Linked DNA regions of Homo sapiens: all the other regions are linked to region 1. The links are contacts of gene promoters, found by promoter capture Hi-C in human tissues and cell types (Jung and others, 2019). All regions are on one chromosome and are shown on one strand. Each heading gives the region's core, a stretch centred on a gene start or on the middle of the fragment in contact. The rest is flanking DNA. Distances are from core to core; before and after follow the strand shown. Region 1 holds the start of CAMSAP1 (calmodulin regulated spectrin associated protein 1). Region 2 has its middle 43 kb from the start of TMEM250. Region 3 overlaps KCNT1 (potassium sodium-activated channel subfamily T member 1).

Region 1 (2,974 bases), core at 346-2,845:
TCCACATCCCATATAACAGTAGATGGCCTCCTGCCTCCTCCTCAGCCCTTCCTAGTCTGTTCTTCACCCAGGAGTCAGAATGACCCTTTTAAAGGGTTAGTCATATCCTTCCGTGTGCTCAGTCTTCCGAAGGCTGCCCATTTCCTGCAGAGAAGGGGCCACAGTTCTGACTGTGCAGGACCTGTCTGCATCCCTCCATGTCCCCACCTCCCATTTCCTACCAGTCCTTCCAGCTCCTGCGTTCTCGACTTAGTGGCCTCTACTGTGTTTCTTACACTCCAGGCTCTCGTGTCTCAGAGGCTCTGTCTGCCGTGCTCCTTGCTCAAGACAGTACTTCTGCAGATATCCTTACCCTCGACGCCCACGTCCCGCCGGTCTTTGCTCAAATAAGTGCCCTCCTCCTATGGCTTTCCTTGACCGCTCTGCCCTGTCCACCTCGTGTTCTTTTCAGACGGCTGACTCAAGAAAAAATAGACAATCTCAACAGACCTATAACAAGTGAAGAGACTCAATTAGTAACCAAAAAACTATGAATCAAATAAGTCATCAAAAAAGCCCAGGCCCAAATGGCTTCAAGGTTGAATTGAAGCCTGCACGTGGGTTGGTATGTGAATGACGGACTGCCTGGGTCCTCTGGGCACCTGGCATTTCATACATGTTCCGCCTCTGGCACGGGGTGTCTCGACCAGGTACAGACAGGCTGGGAGCCCCGCGCCGGGCGCCCGCTCCCTGGAAGCTCGACCTCTCCCTGCCGTCAAGGCGCCGGTGGGCGGCACGTGGGCCGGCTCTCCCGGGGGCAGTTCTCTATTTCGCTGGTGAGGTTCTCAGACCAAATCCTCGGAATGCAAACTCTCACGGCGTTCCCGTAATTCTCAGCCCAGCGCGGGCCCCGACGCAGGCTCCAGGGGAACGAAGTCAGCGTCCCTTCCGGGGGATGCGCCGGCGGGGCCGCACCTGTTTCTGCCTCAGGGGTCCAAACGCCCACCTTCCCTGCACCGGGACGGGGGTCTGGAGACTGGCACGTCCACCTGGTGCCCGTCTGCTGGGCTGTCGCCTGCCGAGGTCGCCGCCGGCCACACCCACGAGGTCCCCAGGGCGCCGGCGGCGAGACCTCGGCCGGCCAGGGGGCCGGGCTGTGGCTGAGGTGGGACGAGCCAGGGCCGGGGAGGAGACACGGCGCTAAAAGAGGGCAGCTGCGGGCTCGGCAGGATCCCCGCCGCCGACCCACTCCACCCACCCCGCGCCGCCCACTCCCCGCTGCCTACGCCGCGCTCCACACCGCGGGCCTTAGAGCCTGAGGAAAGCAACGGGGCAGGCGCGGACCAGGGCGGGTCCTACTGCGCCTGCGGAAGCGGGCGGGGAGGGGCGGGTCGACGCTCACTGCGCCTGCGGAAAGGGGCGGGGCAGGCACAGGCCTGCGGGTGCCACCTACTGCGCCTGCGGAAAGGGGCGGGGCGGGCGCGGGCTGGCGGGCGGTGCCTACTGCGCCTGCGGAAAGGGGCGGGGCAGGCGCGAGAAGGGAGCGGAGCTGGGGGCGGGGTCGAGGGCGGGGTGGCGGGCGGTGCCTACTGCGCCTGTGCGAGGCCCCGGCGGTGAGCGCGCTCCCGCTCCTTGGCCACCGCCTCAGCCGCTGTCGCCGCCGCCGCCGCTCACCCGGGACCGCGCACGCGCTGCCACCGCCCCCGGCCCGCTCCCGCCCCCGCGCCCGCCCCCGCCCCCGGCCCGCGCCCTCCTGCCGCCGCCTCTTTGGGCCGCGGGCTCGGCACCTCCTCCGCTCGGGCTCAGCGCCCGCAGCATGCAGCAGCCGCGGGGGCGGCGACGGCGGCGGCTGTGAGGTGAGGCGGGGGCCGCGCTCGGGCGCCCCTCCCGGCTGGCCGGCTGCGGGGCCGAGTGGTGGCTCGGGGCGCACCGGGCCCGGCGCGGCGAGGGGCGGCGGCGCCTTTGTTGCGGCCGGGCCGCCGCCTCAGCCCTTTGTCTGCAGATGGTGGACGCGAGCGGCCGCGCCGCCGCCGAGGGCTGGAGGAAGATGGAGGCCCCGCCGGACGGCGCCGCCGACCTCGTGCCCCTGGACCGCTACGACGCGGCGCGCGCCAAGATCGCCGCCAACCTGCAGTGGATCTGCGCCAAGGCCTACGGCCGAGGTGGGCCGGGTGAGGGGCGCGGGGCGGGGGCCAGGGGCGCGGGCCGGGGCCGGGGGACGCGGCCGGGGTCCGGCCGGGTCGGGGTCCGCGCGCCGCGCCTTTGTGCCGCGTCCGCACAGGGTCGGGGCTGGGCCGGCCGCCTCCGAGGTCCTGGCGGCGCCCGGGCAACGCGGAGCGTGGGGACGCGGTCACCTGGCGAGTGGGCGTCCCTGCGGCGGAGGGCGGCGTGGGTCGGGGCTTCCGCTCCTATTTCGGGAGTGCCCCCAGCCTCCCGTTGGCGGCGGCGGCGGCGGGAAGGAGCTGCCCGGTTCTGGGCGCAGGGAGGGACCATGGGGACGCGGGGCCGCCGTCTGAGGCGCCGCTTCCCGGCGCGCCGGGCATCGTCCAGTGCTGGACCTGTGATTCCGAGCCTTGCACTTGTTATGAATTTTGATGCTTACAAGCTGTCAGCTGTTGAATTCCCCAACTAGAAATTGCGTATTCCGCGCATTGTGCTTAATCATAATGATCCCCTTTGGTTAATTCCTGTTTGGAAGAACTAGGTAACCTTGTTACTCAGTCCAGTTTGTTAGGCCCTAATGTGCTTAGTGGATTAAGACGCTTCTGTTTCGTGCCCTGGGAACAGGACAGACCTAGTGATTCTCGTCAGTGGCTGACTTCTTTATTAATTTCAGGTGCTTTGTTTCAGGTACAATTAAAGGTTAATATTTCTGCAATCCTCTTTTCATTTGAAGCATTCTTAAAATATTTGCCTTTATTCTGGTGAAAAATTACCCTTTTTAGAGTAAGACTAAAGGAGACAGCCCTTCCAGAGAAGAGTTCAGTTGACCAGT
Region 2 (2,974 bases), core at 119-2,618, 250 kb before region 1:
GAAAATAGTGGTAGTAGTTGCACAAAAATGTGAAGGTATTAAATGCCACTGAATTACACACTTAAAAAGGTTAAAATGGCAAATGTTATGTTATATATGTTTTGCCTCAATTTTTAAAAATTAATGTAATATATCAAAACCCACTGAATTACACAATTTAAATGGGTGAATTATACGGTATGAGAATTATAACTCAATCAAGCTGTTTTTTAAAGTCAATGATTGTTAGAATCTTTTTTTTTTTTTTGAGATGGAGGCTCACTCTGTCACCCAGGCCGGAGTGCAGTGGTGTGATCTTGGCTCACTGCAACTTCTGTCTCCCAGGTTCAAGTGATTCTCCTGCCTCAGCCTCCTGAGTAGCTGGGACTACAGGTGCGAGCCACCACACCCGGCTAATTTTTTTTTTTTTTGAGACAGAGTCTCACTCTGTCGCCCAGGCTGGAATGCAGTGGCCTGATCTCGGCTCACTGCAAGCTCCACCTCCCGGGTTCACGCCATTCTCCTGCCTCAGCCTCCCGAGTAGCTGGGACTACAGGCACCCACCACCACGCCCGGCTAATTTTTTGTATTTTTAGCAGAGACAGGGTTTCACCATGTTAGCCAGGATGGTCTCAATCTCCTGACCTCGTGATACGCCCATCTCGGCCTCCCAAAGTGCTGGGATTACAGGCGGTGAGCCACCGCGCCCAGCCAATTTTTGTTTTTTTAGTAGAGATGGGGTTTCACCATATTGGCCAGGCTGTTCTCAAACTCCTGACCTCAGCCTCCCAAAATGCTGGGATTACAGGCATGAGCCACTGGACCTGGCCAGAATCTATTTTAAAAATCATCCAGTAGGCACTGTGTACCAGGCACTGTTCTAGACACTGAAGATTGAGCAGGGAACAAAAGCCAGCTTGGCCCTTCTAGAGCCCACCTGCTGGAGGTGGGATGGGCAATAAGCAGGGAATGGAAGGGAGGGAGGGAGGGGGCTCCCTGGAGGGCTGGGTGGGCCTCGCTAAATGGGACCCTATGACTAGGAGGGACCCCATGGGCACCAGGGAGAGACAGGGCAGCCAAGGGGGCCTCCAGGCAGAGGCTGCTGGGCTGGCACCTGCATGGACATGTCATTTATAAAGAAATAGCATCCCAGACTGGCATGGTGGCTCACGCTGGTAATCCTGGCACTTTGAGAGGCCGAGGTGGGTCAGTCGCTTGAGCCCAGGATTTCAGGACCAGCCTGGACCACATGGCAATACCTCAAGTCTATGAAAAATACAGAAATAGCCGGTGTGGTGGCTCCTGCCTGTAGTCCCAGCTAATCAGGAGGCTGAGGTGGGAGGATCGCTTGAGCCCAGGAGGTGGAGGTTGCAGTGAGCCGTGATCACACCTCTGCACTCTAGCCTGAGCGACAGAGCCAGACCCTGTTTCCAAAGAAAGGGAAGGGAAAGGGAGGGAAGGGGCAAGGAGGGGAGGGAAGGGACAGCATCCCCAAAAGGTCTGGAGAAAAGCGAAACCACTCAGGGTTTTATGCTACAGCCCATCCCCTGAGTTTCTGTAGCTGTGACAAATATATTTTTGAAAAAGAGAAGGAGTATTGAATAACTTGGGAAAATGTCTGTTGCATTTGGGTAAAAAAACGGGAGTTTTTTTACACTGCCAGTGTCAATGTGTGCCAAAGCACAGCAAGCGCGCACACACCACATATGCACACATGCCATGTACACACACACAGGTGCACATAACATCACATACACTCATGTACAGACACACATACCACGCACACCACACACATATGCACACACCCACACACATATGCACACACACATGCACACACACATATGCACACACACACATACATCTGTCATCTCCCCTGCAGATGAGGGGTTGAGGCCCGGGCAATGTGACGACCACTTGCCCAGGACTGGTAGAACTCTGTGGTGCCCTCTGGGGCAGTCCCCTCCCACCAGGCTGCCTCCTGATGGTTTCTCCCATGGTTGACTCGGCCCCAGAGGTCTGGTGACATCTCCCTCTCACCATGCTGAGTTCCTCGGATGACTGCAGCTGTGGCTGAGCAGTGAGGCCCCTGCCCAGGACCCTGGCCTGGCCCAGACTGTGTCCCCATGTCAGGGCATGTAAACAGCAAGGGCTTGGCCCGTGCCCTCAATGCTCTGAGCCCGCTGTCTCAGGAACAAATTAGAATCTCACTCGAATCCTCATAAATCTTCCATTCCTGACAAATCCAAAGGAAGATGGGGGAGAGGGGCAGGGGGGAGGGGAAGGAGCCAGGGTCCCTCGCTAATTTCTCCAAACTGCTGTTTATTGAAATGAGACACCAGGGATAAGCAAGAGCTGGATCAATAAAGGCCTGTCTAATACAATCAGCCGGGGCCGCCAGCTTCCCGCCCCTCCTTCCAGGGAACACCAGAGGCGAGGGGCCTGAGGAGCGCAGCCCAGGCCTCCCCGCTCCTGGGAACCTCCCCTCCCACACTGCCCTGTAGAAGCCGTTCACCTGCAGACACAGCCCACATCATGTTCCTGCAGCTGCTTCTCCAAGGCTGCCCCTCAGCTGGCCCGGCCTTCCCTGCAGGTGTCTGCTCCCTAGGGAGAGCCATAGGGGCCGGCTCATGGAGAGCAGGGCCCCACCCAGGCCCTCCCACTCCTGCAGTCTCCAAGCCTCACCCCTGCAGTGACCAGGCAGCCCCAGTGCAGCCACCACGCCACCCTCCCAACATGCCCCACACACTCCAGCTTCCTGGGCCCGGCCTCCTCGGACCAAGGCCTGGCACCTTGCTGTGCTGGGGTCCCTCAAGCAGTGGCTTTTCCTGAGTCATTCCGCCCACCTGCCTCCAGTCCGGTCCCGGGAATAACTGGCCACTCCTCTTTCTGGGTAACTGTGAGTCCTAGACTGGGGCCTGGGCTCTGAGTGGCCCCCTCCCCGACACATGAGCTCTTGGGGGCAGGACGGCCAACTCGGTGCTGAGTTCTTGGAAGG
Region 3 (2,974 bases), core at 169-2,668, 190 kb after region 1:
AATCAAGGACCGCTGCCTGAGCCTGGAGGACGCCAGCCCTCAGCCAGGCTGCGGGCTCCGCCACCGGGGCGCTTCCGGCCCTGGCTTGCCCCCAAAACCAGAAAAACTGGGGTGCTGGGGGTTGGGAGCAGACACCGGAAGGCCAGGCCGCCCTCCGCCTCCGCGCCCCAAGTCGGGCTCTGGAAGACTCCGCAGCTCCGAGCATCCCGCGCCCTCCTCCGGAGACCCCCTCCCGAGAAGATGCTTCCCCCTGCCCGCACCCCCTCCGAAACTTCTGCGTCCCCAGAAGCCGGGAAAAGTTGAAGGGCGCCGGCGGCTGCGGGGGCGCGCGGGACCGGCCGTCAGCACCGCGGACAGCTCCGGGCGTGCGGCGGCGCCGGGACGGCGACCCCAGCCCCCACCCCGCGCCCGGTCCCTACCTGTCGTCGTTCTGGAAGGACGGGTCGCCCAGCAGCAGGTCCCGGAAGCGGTAGCGCGGCGGCAAGGGCAGCACCTCGGAGTCCAGGTCGCTCATCTTGAAGCCGGCGGTGTCCAGGAGCGCGCCGTCCCCCGCGCAGGGCCGCCTGCGGGCACACGCCAGCGCCCCTCAGCCCGCGTCGGGCGCCCTCGCGGACGCGCGCAGCCCCCGGCCCGCCAGGCCCGGCCCGCGCAGCGCAGCCCGCGGCCACCGCGACCCACCGGGCGGGCGGGCGGCCGGGCGGGGGCGGGCCTGGCGGCACATGCGGGCGGGGGCGCGCGGGACCGGCTGCGCCGGGCTGGGGCTAGGGCGGGGGCTGCGCAGGGGCAGGGGGCGGGGCTCCCTCCAAAGCGGCCCCGGGGCCTGGCAGGAGGTAAGGGGGACGGGAGCTGTCATGGCCAGCTCAGGGACAGGCGCGCACCACTCCTCCCTGATCCCCCAAGAGCCAGGATGGAGGCCCTCCCCCTGCTCTGAAGCCCCGCCACACCCCTGCAACCCCTCCCAACTCCCCAGCTCCCCTCCCCGTCCCCAGGGTCTTTGCCGAGGCCGGCTGCTCAATCTTCCTTCAGGGTCCAGCCCCAGAGACCCCCGTCTCAGACCCTCAGGCTGTTGAGGGGTGAGGGTGGAGTGACCAGGAGGCCTAAGAAGACACCCTTGTTTGCAGCCTCCCCAGGCGGAGCAGCTCAGCTCAGGTCAGAACCCCGGGGGGCTGCCAGGCCCTCTGGGCCCTGAGCTGCCCTGCCACTGTCACCAGGTGAGGGATCAAAGGGACACAGAGAGCTGGCAGCGCAGGTTAGGGGCATCGTGGCACACCAGGTAGAGTGGGAGGACCCCTGGTGGTCTGCAGTTCTTGGGGGCCCAAGCAGGTGTCTTCCAGGGGTCTTGCATCTTTCCTGTCCCCATGTCCCCCACTGAAGTGAGTTTTGGCTGCTCCAGGAGAAGCAGGAGCTGAGGGGCAGGGAGCTCCTTACCTGGCCCAGGCCGGCCCTTGTTCAAGGCTTCGAGGCCAGCAGGAGAGCAGAGGGGGGATGGAGGGGGCTGGCTCCCCCACGGGCAGGGGCAGGAGGCTCTGACCATACCCAGCTCCCCGTGCTGTGCCCGTAGGCCCTGCACAGAGGCCACTCATTTGGAACACCAGGTCCAGGGATGCTACAAAACTCTCCTCTCTCTCCTCAAGTCGGGAGGGGTGGGCACATTCCTTGAGCCCCCACCAAGTGCCTCTCCTGTGTCCCCTAACCCTCAGACAAGCAGCAGGCAAGGAGCTATGGGCACCCCAGGCTGAAGCTGCAGGCAGCAGGTGCGTGCCCCAAACCCTGCTCCTTGTTCTGAGGTCACAGGTTCAACCCCCAGGATCTGGCAGCATTTAAAAAATAACATTTTCCTAACTGCATCAGCGTAGCTGCATGTTTTTCCTTAGTCACAAGCTGGCTGGGCCATGGGGAGGTGCAGGCAGGCAGGGGAACCACGTGGCCAGGGGTCGGGGCTCTATTTTCTTGATTTTGTGCCTTCCTCACTGAAAGCCCCTTTCAATGGCAAAACCCCAAGAGACTGCCGGCTCCTCAGGCGTGGCTGCCTCCTCCCGTCCCCACCCCGTCTGCCTTTTGAGCGGCTCTGGTTCCTCCTCCTGGCCTCAAGGCCCAGTCTTGGCAGGGCCCATGGACAAGCTCAGGGGCTTGGACCTTGGCTTGCTTCAGGAGTCACCAGGGGAAGGAAGTGCACCAGGAGTCCAGAGACCTGGCCCCACCCCTGCTCCCCAGATGTGGCCTGGGGAGGGTGACAAGGACAAGATGCCCTTCTTCCCTTGGGAAGCTGCTTTGACACTTGAGCGAGCACACGGCCATAAGCAGGTGTCCTGCAGGCCTCCTGGCATCCTGCCTTGTTCCCCCCACAGAGCCAGAAACCTTGAAAATACTTCGCTGTTGTGTTGGCTGAGGGCCGGGGCTAAAATCCTTGGCTGTTGTGTTGGCTGAGGGCTGGGACTGAGGGCCGGGGCTACAGGGTCTCTGGGAAAGGGGCCCATCGCAGGAGGACAGCAGCAAAACAGCTGCTCCCCGTGTCCTCGGGGTCTGGTTGAGACTTTTCGCAAGCAGGAAGGCCTACATCGGCCAGCTTTTTTGGGCACAGGGGGAGAGGGGAGTGTTGGGGGGTCTGGTCCCTGTTGAAGCTGGTTCAGGTGGAACTGGAACATAACCCTGGCATAGCCAGACACGGGGACCCTGGGGCCCACCTCGAATTCTGCACCCCCTCTTCTCTTGCGCTGTCCTCCCTGTGTGACCCAAGGGGCCCTGGAGGAAATCTAGGACCCCCAAGGCCACATCCATGATCTTTTTATTTTCTGAGTGACTGCTGTGCCAAATAATTACCAATTTCCATAAGAATTCTGTGTTTGGTGGCTTAAGGAAGGTGTCCCTCTCCTCAGCCCTTACACTACTCTCTGGACAAGGTGTGGAGCTCAACCTGTGGGACTCACACACCCCTTGGAGCCAGGGCTGAGGTGACGGGACACAGCACACCCCC

What was found. Contacts are between HindIII fragments. The study calls those that stand out against the background at their distance.
Region 2: a contact is called between a fragment that was not itself captured here and the fragment with the promoter of CAMSAP1 in region 1, in 2 of the 25 tissues and cell types used here (IMR-90 fibroblasts and dorsolateral prefrontal cortex).
Region 3: a fragment that was not itself captured here is called in contact with the fragment with the promoter of CAMSAP1 in region 1 in 1 of the 25 tissues and cell types used here (mesendoderm cells).

What each region holds. Positions count from the first base shown.
Region 1 is chr9:135,906,167-135,909,140 of GRCh38, reverse strand. CAMSAP1 (calmodulin regulated spectrin associated protein 1) reads left to right here and starts at 1,595. Exons shown (of 17, transcript NM_015447.4): 1 at 1,595-2,141. The coding sequence starts at 1,982. It overlaps CAMSAP1-DT (CAMSAP1 divergent transcript), which reads right to left and starts at 1,308. Exons shown (of 2, transcript XR_007061860.1): 1 at 222-1,308. RefSeq lists silencers at 1,027-1,706, 1,747-1,856, 1,937-2,006, 2,407-2,456. The HindIII fragment of the contact is 39,877 bases long and covers 1-2,974 here.
Region 2 is chr9:136,160,203-136,163,176 of GRCh38, reverse strand. No RefSeq gene overlaps it. Among named protein-coding and RNA genes, the nearest start is that of TMEM250, 43 kb to the right of the region's middle. The HindIII fragment of the contact is 7,426 bases long and covers 1-2,974 here.
Region 3 is chr9:135,712,166-135,715,139 of GRCh38, reverse strand. KCNT1 (potassium sodium-activated channel subfamily T member 1) reads right to left here. Exons shown (of 31, transcript NM_020822.3): 2 at 420-563. Among named protein-coding and RNA genes, the nearest start is that of KCNT1, 11 kb to the right of the region's middle. The HindIII fragment of the contact is 6,055 bases long and covers 1-2,974 here.